2 separate regions of the Homo sapiens genome follow, and region 2 is linked to region 1. The links are contacts of gene promoters, found by promoter capture Hi-C in human tissues and cell types (Jung and others, 2019). All regions are on one chromosome and are shown on one strand. The core of a region is centred on a gene start or on the middle of the fragment in contact, and the rest is flanking DNA. Distances in the headings are between cores, read along the strand shown.

Region 1 (4,228 bases), core at 944-3,443:
GCACCCAGGTCAGTCTGACATCTAAGCCTTTAAAAAGCCTTAAAAATGTGAAAGGGAAAAAACACACAAAGCTTCCAAACTCGCAAGCCACAACGTAGCCTCAAACGACCTTATTTATGGTTTGGGGATTTTCCTTGGGCCTAAAATAAGCTACCTGGGGCACTGCCTTTTAAGTGCTTCTTCCACCAAGGGTCATCCACACTCACTCCTGCTGGAGGGTGGTCAGACTGACCTAAGAGCTAAGAGATCTCAGGTGCTCCTGGCCATGGCAAACATTTCTCCTTCGGTTTATCCCAGAAGTCTCTCCCTCCCTCCCTCCCTCCCTCCCTCCCAGTTTTAAACATTCCTAAGGCTCTTTTGTTCCTTTTTATGAATTAAAACCAGAATTACCTTTATAGGAAAGTAGGGGATGCAATTGAAAGACATTAAAAACATTATTCTAGCACCTCCCAGCCATAACTTGCCATGGTCCTTTAGCCATACAAAAAGCCTTCCTGGAGTCTTTCTAGCTGTGTAGAAGAGCTTAGAAGAGAAAATGCAATTAAAATACCTTCTGATAGGGAGTGGAGAGGTAAGTACAAAACAAACTCCCCTTAAGGAAATTCAGCTATGAGTTTTATTTAATTTCAGAACTAAAGAATTTGCTATTATGTCCGCCTCTGCCTGGGTCCCTGGGTCTATCTCATCCTCACCAGAAACTAAAGAGTAATTTACAAAAGCACAAATGCTTTGGCACCGAAACCCTTCCCAAGTTTCTGACTTTCTGTATTCTGCAACTGATGAGAACGCAATGGTCACATCAGGTGGAGTTCTCAGTCAGGTCCTCAGAGTGAGCCAGGTATGAGGGTGGCTCAGTAAACAGGACCCGAATAAGGCAAATGTCCAGGTCTCACTTTCTCATTGCTGAAGGGGTGTGCGCAAAGGGCAGCAGGTGTGCTCTTGTTAAAAGGAAAGGAAAAGGAGCACTGGTGAGAGGAAGGGGAAGAAAACCAGGCAAAAAAGCATGAAACAAAACAGGAGCGCAGTGGGTCCTCCCCCAGCATGCCCTGCCCAATTCTATTTAAATCAACATTTACTGATTGGGTCACTACTAAGTATCCCGCAGATCTAGCCTGCAGCACCTGAAGAGACAAGGAAATGAGTAAGACGGGCTTCATCTTCAGGAAGGTTTCTTGCCAGGAATCACTGTTGTTGCCATTTTTAATTTTAATGGTTGTAGATAATTCCTGGACAGTTCAAATAACTTCACTGGGGCCCCTCTCCTCCCCCTAACCTGTCCTACTCAGAAGCTCCAGCCCCAGGCATATGAGCCAACCGAACCCTGGGAAAACCAAAGTGTCCTTGTGTGTCCCGCATCACACACGGTACAAAATAACTGTCACCCCTGAACAAGCCTCGCCTCAGAAGTCTAAAACCCAGGTCCTGCATTCAAAATCTATAGACTACCGTCTACAGATTCATCGCGCTTGTTTTTTAAGTAGGGTCATCTAAATTAAAAACAATAACGACTTGAGGACACTGATGAAAGAAACACTGGTTTCATGTATCAGACTACTTCAGAACTTGATTACAGGAAACGAGGCAATCCCAAACTTAAAGAAAAAAAAGTTCAGTAGAACTTGCCGCGCAGGCTGTACCAATATTTTTTCACACTTACAAGGAGAAAAACACTAACACCAACTCAAGAAGGGAAAACACACACACACACACACACACACACACACACACAAAAACCAACTGTCTAGTGTGTGGCTGTAAAATACGCCATGGAGGCGGAGGGACGGTGGCTAACACTTTCGCCCGCCCCGTGCACGCGATCGCTGGGGAGCTGGGGTCGCTGCGCTCCCGGCCTGCAGTTACCTGGTCCAGCGGGATGCCCAGGAGCTCGCTGAGCGGGTGCAGGTAGGTGGAGCCCGTGGTGCGGTAGGAAAGGCTGGACGGCTGCGGCTCTGCTGCCATCCTGCATCTTCGGGAGGTGGCTGCCCCTGTCCCAGCCCGCAACACCCCCTGCTCGGCGTCCTCCCGCCCGGGTGCTCTTGGGTGGTTGCCCCGAGAGGCGCACGGCCGCCTGGTTCGCGGGGGAGCGAACGGGAGGCCGGGGAATGCGAACCGGCGCAAACTCTCGAGGCGCAAACTCTCGAGGCGCAAACTTGGCTTTGGCGCTGGCGCTGCAGCCACGGGCGCCGTAGGAGGGCCGGGCCCAAGGCGCCCCGCTTCCCGCTCCCTTCCTCTCCGCGCCCATTGGCCCGGCCGCTCGGGACGGCCCCGAGAGGAGGGAAGGAGGGAGGAAAAGTGGGGACTCCGAGCCCGGCCCCCAAGCGCCGCCCGGCCCGCCCAGCCTGGCCTGCACCGAGGCCGACCGGGAGAGGGAAAGCGACGCCAGCGGGCGCCGCCGCCTGGCCCTGCAGCTGGAGGCGGGACGCGCCTTTCCTCCTCCCGGGCTGACCGTCCTAGCCCCCCGCCAGACAAAACGACCTCACCCAGCGGGCGCCTTCCACTAGAGAGCACCACCCACCCCGCCCCACCCTGTTTTGGTTTCGCCGCCGCAGTCGAAGCGGCTGAGTGGCTGCGTTTCCCTTTCAAGCCGTAGAGGGTTCCTCTGCCGGTGGCTGGAAGCTGGAGCGCCGCAGCCACCAGACTCCCTACTTCCTTTACCCTCCTCTGCGCTAGGCATAGTTTCCTACACCCTGATCTGACATGTTCGGTGTCACACAAGCAAATACAGGGGACTGCTAGCTTCGGGTCACTTCCGTCTCTGTGGAGTGAGAGTTATTTCACCTCTGTAAGAAACGGTGTTTACTGTCATACTATGTGCATTCTGATAAGTCATTTGCATGCCACGGGTCCTCAAAAAGGGTGCCTTGCTCCTTAACTTGTCTGCCCCCGAACACCCACACATCAATGTTACTTGGAAAACTTTTCCAAGTTATTGCTAGGTTCTGAGAAACATAAAAATCTTGAAGATCCTTTTCAGGAATCGCTAGCTGATGAAAAAGGGTTTCAGGAAGGTAATATTCTGGGCTGCTGGGTAGAAAACCAAAGAAAGTGAGCTCACGTGGCCCCCAGCCTCCGCTGGGTAAACCGGCATTCGATCAGACAGGCAATGACTTTCGGGGCCGACTTTATCAATGTGGCCTCCAGCTTCAAATTAAACCGAAGGCCTGTCAGGCACTGGCAACAACTTACTCTCCAAGACTCAGGCCTCACTCTTGCCTTCTTCAGGAGTTTTATCACCATCAAACTGCACTGAGCATTAAATTGCCAGGCCAGAGTTTCTCAACCTATGTCCCCTGTGGAGGAGGAAAAAAAAAAGTCTGTACCACCACTCCCACAAGCTAACCGAATGGAGATGTCACCACCAGATGATAATCTCTACCACTCACAAGCAAACCCACACTACAGACAGACAGACACATGCACACACGCACACAGGCATATACTTGAGGATCACTAGGCTAGATAGGTTCATTTAATATCATAGAGTCCTGGAAAATGACCAGCATTGGAGCAACATTCATCTTATCTGGAGCTAGATGACAGCTGAAGTGAGGTATATGAGAGCAGACGGAGCTTTGTTTAAAAGGAAAAAAAAATCAACACTCAGATATGAGTTGCTGGAAAACAGAAGTAGGTCAGTTTGGGAAGTATTTCTGGAGCAAGTGCCTCAGACCCTTTATAATTTTCACAAAGCTATGCCTTTTAGACTTCAAAGAATAGTCCTCACATAGGCCATATATATATATGTGTGTGTGTGTGCGTGTGTATATATATTTATTATAAATATATTAATTTATATAATCATATATAAATATATTTATATATGTAAAGTTTTATATGTACATATATTAGCCTTACACAGGTTTATATATACATATATTACACAGTTTTTATATATATATATAACACAGGTTTGATATATACATATGTATATATGTATATGTAAAATATATACATGTATTAGCCTTACACAGGTTTTTTTCTCCCTAACAAAACACAGTTCATAACCTAGTCTAAATTTTTCTTTTAAAAATGGCCGGGTGCGGTGGCTTATGCCTGTAATCCCAGCATTTTGGGAGGCCGAGGCGGGCAGATCACCTGAGGTCAGGAGTTCGAGACCAGCCTGGCCAACATGGTGAAACCCCATCTCTACCAAAAAACAAAAATTAGCCAGGTGTGGTGGCAGGCACCTGTAATCCCAGCTACTTGGGAAGCTGAGGCAGGAGAATCG
Region 2 (4,289 bases), core at 477-2,976, 1.5 Mb before region 1:
ACCAACAGTGCCTGCAATTCTTACTGATAAAGTTACACTTATTTTTGGCACTCATTACTCATACACTATGCTTTAACTTTATTGACCTGCTTGCAGGTCCCTGAATGCTTGGTGTTTTCTCATATCTCAGCACATTGAACACCTTCTTTCCTCTGCTTGAAATAGAAAAGATTTTAGCATAGTGGGTGGTTAAAAATGGGCTATGGATTCAGGCTAGACTAGATTTATATCCTGACCCTTTCACTCTCTGTCTGTACTGACTTGGGCAAGTAACTTAACCCCTTTTTACCTCCACCTGCTTATCTGTAAAATGGATAATAATAGTACATTGATCATGGGGCTGCTGCAAATATTAAATATTTATTCATAAATAAAAAATATGAAATATTTTTTATTAAAAAATAAATATGAACCATTTAGAATAACAAGGTTGTTATTATTACTACTATTGTTAAAAACTCCACTTAGCTATCACGTTTTCCAGGAAGCCTTCCTGATACTTCCAGGTTCAATTAGGTGGCCCTTTGTTGAGCTGCTGTAATAGATTGTCGAGACATTTATCCGATTACGTCATATACTTGTCTGTCTCTTCTCTAAGGTGTACACCTGAAAAATATGGATTAAAAATAGAACAACATTGTATTCCTAGCACCTAGTAGTCAATAAATGTTTTCTGAATGAATAAAGAAATTTAGAGTCAATAGCTGTGGGCCTAAGCTAGTAATTACTAAGGAAATAATTATGAGCCTCAAGTAAAATTAATCTTATAAATGAGAATTGCATGAGTTAATCTAGTTACAGAAATGTTCTTTTAACTAACTTGATTGATTGAAGCTTCGTTTTTCTAGAGTTAGGTTAAATAGGATGTTATTTTCAAAAATTGAGATCATTTTTGATTTTCTCAAATTGCTGAAAGCACAAAGTTTGTATTACAAACAGTTTGAAATATAGCTGATCATTCTGTCATTAGCACCCTGGATTATGTTTAGAGAGGTACTCTACCCATCACACTTGATAATAAATGCCAACAGTTAGCATTACTGTTTGTGAGCACCCCAAATTGCTGCAAAGCAGAAATAAGGCTTAAATGTATCATCTTTATCATCTAAAATAATTGACGTTTTTGCGATTGTCCTATTTACAGTCATGGATTGATTTAGACATTTGGGAAAACTGACCCCGTTAGCTTAGTGAGAAAGAAAACCCCCACATTTTTGGTTTTGATAAGTTTGTAATTTCTCAAAAGAAAATTGCCAACTTTTTTTTTTTTTTGGTATCCAGTTCTAAAGTTGAGGACTTACCTTCTAGTATCATCAAACTCTGTATAGTCAGTGATGCCTCCCCCGACGAAGTTAACTGTTCTAACAATGATCTTCCAAGTTAAAACTTTTGAAACATGGGAAATACATTTTATCCTGGGTGTGAAACCTTTATCACATTAAAGTTGGGAGACATTTGTCATTAACGATATTTAGAATTTCTACCCCCACCATTGCAGAGCTATGTTTCCTATTGTCTGAACCCTGCATGCAGAGCAGGAAGCTCATTTTCTTGTGGTTGAGCAAAAATGAAGGTTCTTAGTGGAGATAAGTAGGTTTTCCTTTTCAGTATAGAAATAAATAACAGTAGTAAATAAATTGAGAGGAGGAAGTGAAGCCAAGAATGAACTCAGGAGATGCCACTGTGCCCAGGTGTGCCCTTGAGGAGGAGGGACAAGGGGTCATAGCCTCAGGACTTCTTACCTGTTGGCAGGGAGGGATGCTCATGTGGCTTCATTAACTGTTCTTTCTTGGGTAGAAGGAACAGGTCTGTGTATGGAAAAAAGAACTTCAGAATTTGTTTTTGTTCCCCCTCTGTTACATCTGTGCCTCTGATTTCTGCCACAACCGATGTGTACGCATTCCCTTTCTCCATCACTGAGCTTCAGTTTGGTTGTATGCTCCAAGATTGCTTAAAAGACTTTCAATGAACCTAATTCTATTCTCTCCTAAAGCATCTCTTTGAATAACCGTTTAAAGGAGCTTACAGCCTTATTATAGCAGAAAGCCATTGTTGGTGAATTCAACAAGGTGGGAGACCACTGTGTTTGTTTCAGTAGTGCAGGGCGGTGGTGTTAAGCCCCTGGAAGGCACTGAGCTCTACACTGGTGCAGGCTAAGGAGAAAAGATTAGGAGCTGGGCTTGAGAGCTGCTCTTCTGGGTCCTTGCAGCGTGCGCTCACAGCAGGCAGTGGAAGTGTTATGTCTACTCCTGGGCAGAGGGGCCGTGGCCCTGGCTGCAGGTATTTCTGGTAAATGCAGGTTTGAGGGCATGAGGATGATGCTTTGAGCTTCCTCTGAATGTTTCTTTCCGCTTAGCTAACATAAATGTTACACATTCCAAACTTTTATAATAGAATGAGTGGGAGACATTGGCAGTTGTCAATAAAACAATTGTCTATGGTACTCCTTATGTAACAAACTGGATTTTTAAAACTTATTTATCTTAAATTTTATAATATTTTAACCTGTGGTTTTTCCCTCTCAAGACATCCAAATGGCTAAAAAATCTATGAGCAAATTATTCAATCAGTCAATAACATTAAAAAAAGTACACATTTTAAACCCCTTTTTATGGTAAATATGTAAAATGCCAAAGCACACCGTGTCTTGACTTGTATGTTCGGTTGGGATTTATATGCAACTTTTAAAAAGTGTAAAGAAAAGCAGTTTTTCTTTTCTAAACTTTCTTCTCAGTTAGGTTCTGCAAAACGCTCCCCCAATTCTCATGAAGTCTAACAGCTGCTATTAAAGCTTACTTTACATGCATGTAGTTAGCAGATATGTTGAAAACGTTTAACAAGTTAAAATGCCAGATATAGTTAGCATTTGTAATTACAAGTATTTTATTTCTCCATAAATAATTCCAGGATTGATTAAGTATAAGGTGACACTAGCCAGTTTTTGGTCTTTGTTTTTTTTTCTCACGATCCTCAACCTTCTTTCTTTTTCCTTGATTTCCTTATTGTCTTTCACCAGTATTTCCTAGTTCCATTCCTTTTTCTTGACTTTGTTCTTTTCTATATTCTTTCCTTTCCCAATTTTTCCTCTGCTTTTTAATTTTCTAGTTTCCTTTTTCCCTGTTTTTTTATTGTTACTTTTCTTTCTCCTTTGTTGTATCTTAAAAGAAGGAAGAAATAAACTGTCCACCAGAGGGCAATCTGATCCTGCGCGCGCGTGCGCGCGCGCACACACACACACACACACACACACACACACACACACTCTCTCTCTCTCTCTCTCTCTCTCTCTCTCTCTCCCTCTCTCTCTCCCTCTCATACACACACACACACACACACAGCCATTTTCTCTCATTTTTTTTCTTTTAAAACTTCCTTCCAGAGGAATATGATGGTTCAGAGAGTAGGTGGTAAAAAACCCTTTTATTTATAAACTCCTTTCATTATAGCTTCTGTGTGGGTGTGTAGTCTCAATGATTTGATTTGTGAAGACTCAAACTGTTGTAGGTTTGTATAAGGAGTATATAGACCCTTATTCTAACAGCCCTAAGAAAACAGTGTAATTATTTGGGGTTATCTTAGAAGCTGCCAAAATACATGGTGAAAATGAAAACTTGAGCTGTGAGATTTTGGATGTATAAGACATGGAAAATCAGCAGACTAATTTCTCGGGTGCCTTTAAATATATGTCACTCTAGCATTCAAGAATTTTACACTCTCATTTAAAAAAATGTGAAAGTCATTATTTTTCTATATTTAGCCATGAAAATGTGTAATAGGAATTAATACAACATTGAACAATCAATTTGTGATGATCCTTATGAATAGCGGAGCTACAGGTAGAGTTGAATTCTGGTTAATAAAATACGTTTTAAAAATATGATTCCTAAGTAGTTGCAGAGTGGCTTAATACAAAGTGATTTTCAACATCTTCCAGGGCCACCTCTGCCTCTTGAGCTCGGTCCTGCCTCTGTTCTCAGGTAAGCTGCTGCAATTCTGTGAGCCTCAGTTTACTTCCTTGTAAATGGAAGTATTTTCAACTCAGGTCCTCATAAGCTCTTTATATGTTAATATGTAGTGGCAGGTCAATGTCAAGAAGAAACGGTTTGAGTCAGCTCTCTTCCTGACCTCGCTGACCTGCACATGTCCATGTCACCTGAAAATGCCATTCTGGATCCCTCAGAGGTTTGAGTAAAGAAAAGAAATTTTCTGCATAGAAGCTTGGTGATTTTTCATCCCAAATGTGAAAGAGAGTCTGTTTTAACTTCATTATCTAATGCAATGAGAGGCAA

What was found. Contacts are between HindIII fragments. The study calls those that stand out against the background at their distance.
Region 2: a contact is called between a fragment that was not itself captured here and the fragment with the promoter of MBOAT1 in region 1, in 1 of the 25 tissues and cell types used here (dorsolateral prefrontal cortex).

Annotation. Positions count from the first base shown.
Region 1 is chr6:20,210,276-20,214,503 of GRCh38, forward strand. MBOAT1 (membrane bound glycerophospholipid O-acyltransferase 1) reads right to left here and starts at 2,194. Exons shown (of 13, transcript NM_001080480.3): 1 at 1,861-2,194. The coding sequence starts at 1,959. RefSeq lists a silencer at 2,000-2,539 and an enhancer at 2,722-3,222. The HindIII fragment of the contact is 7,104 bases long and covers 1-4,228 here.
Region 2 is chr6:18,746,347-18,750,635 of GRCh38, forward strand. LOC105374957 (a long non-coding RNA gene) reads right to left here. Exons shown (of 3, transcript XR_926557.3): 2 at 1,743-1,808; 3 at 342-606. Among named protein-coding and RNA genes, the nearest start is that of TRQ-CTG1-1, 88 kb to the right of the region's middle. RefSeq lists an enhancer at 3,072-3,366. The HindIII fragment of the contact is 3,555 bases long and covers 1-3,504 here.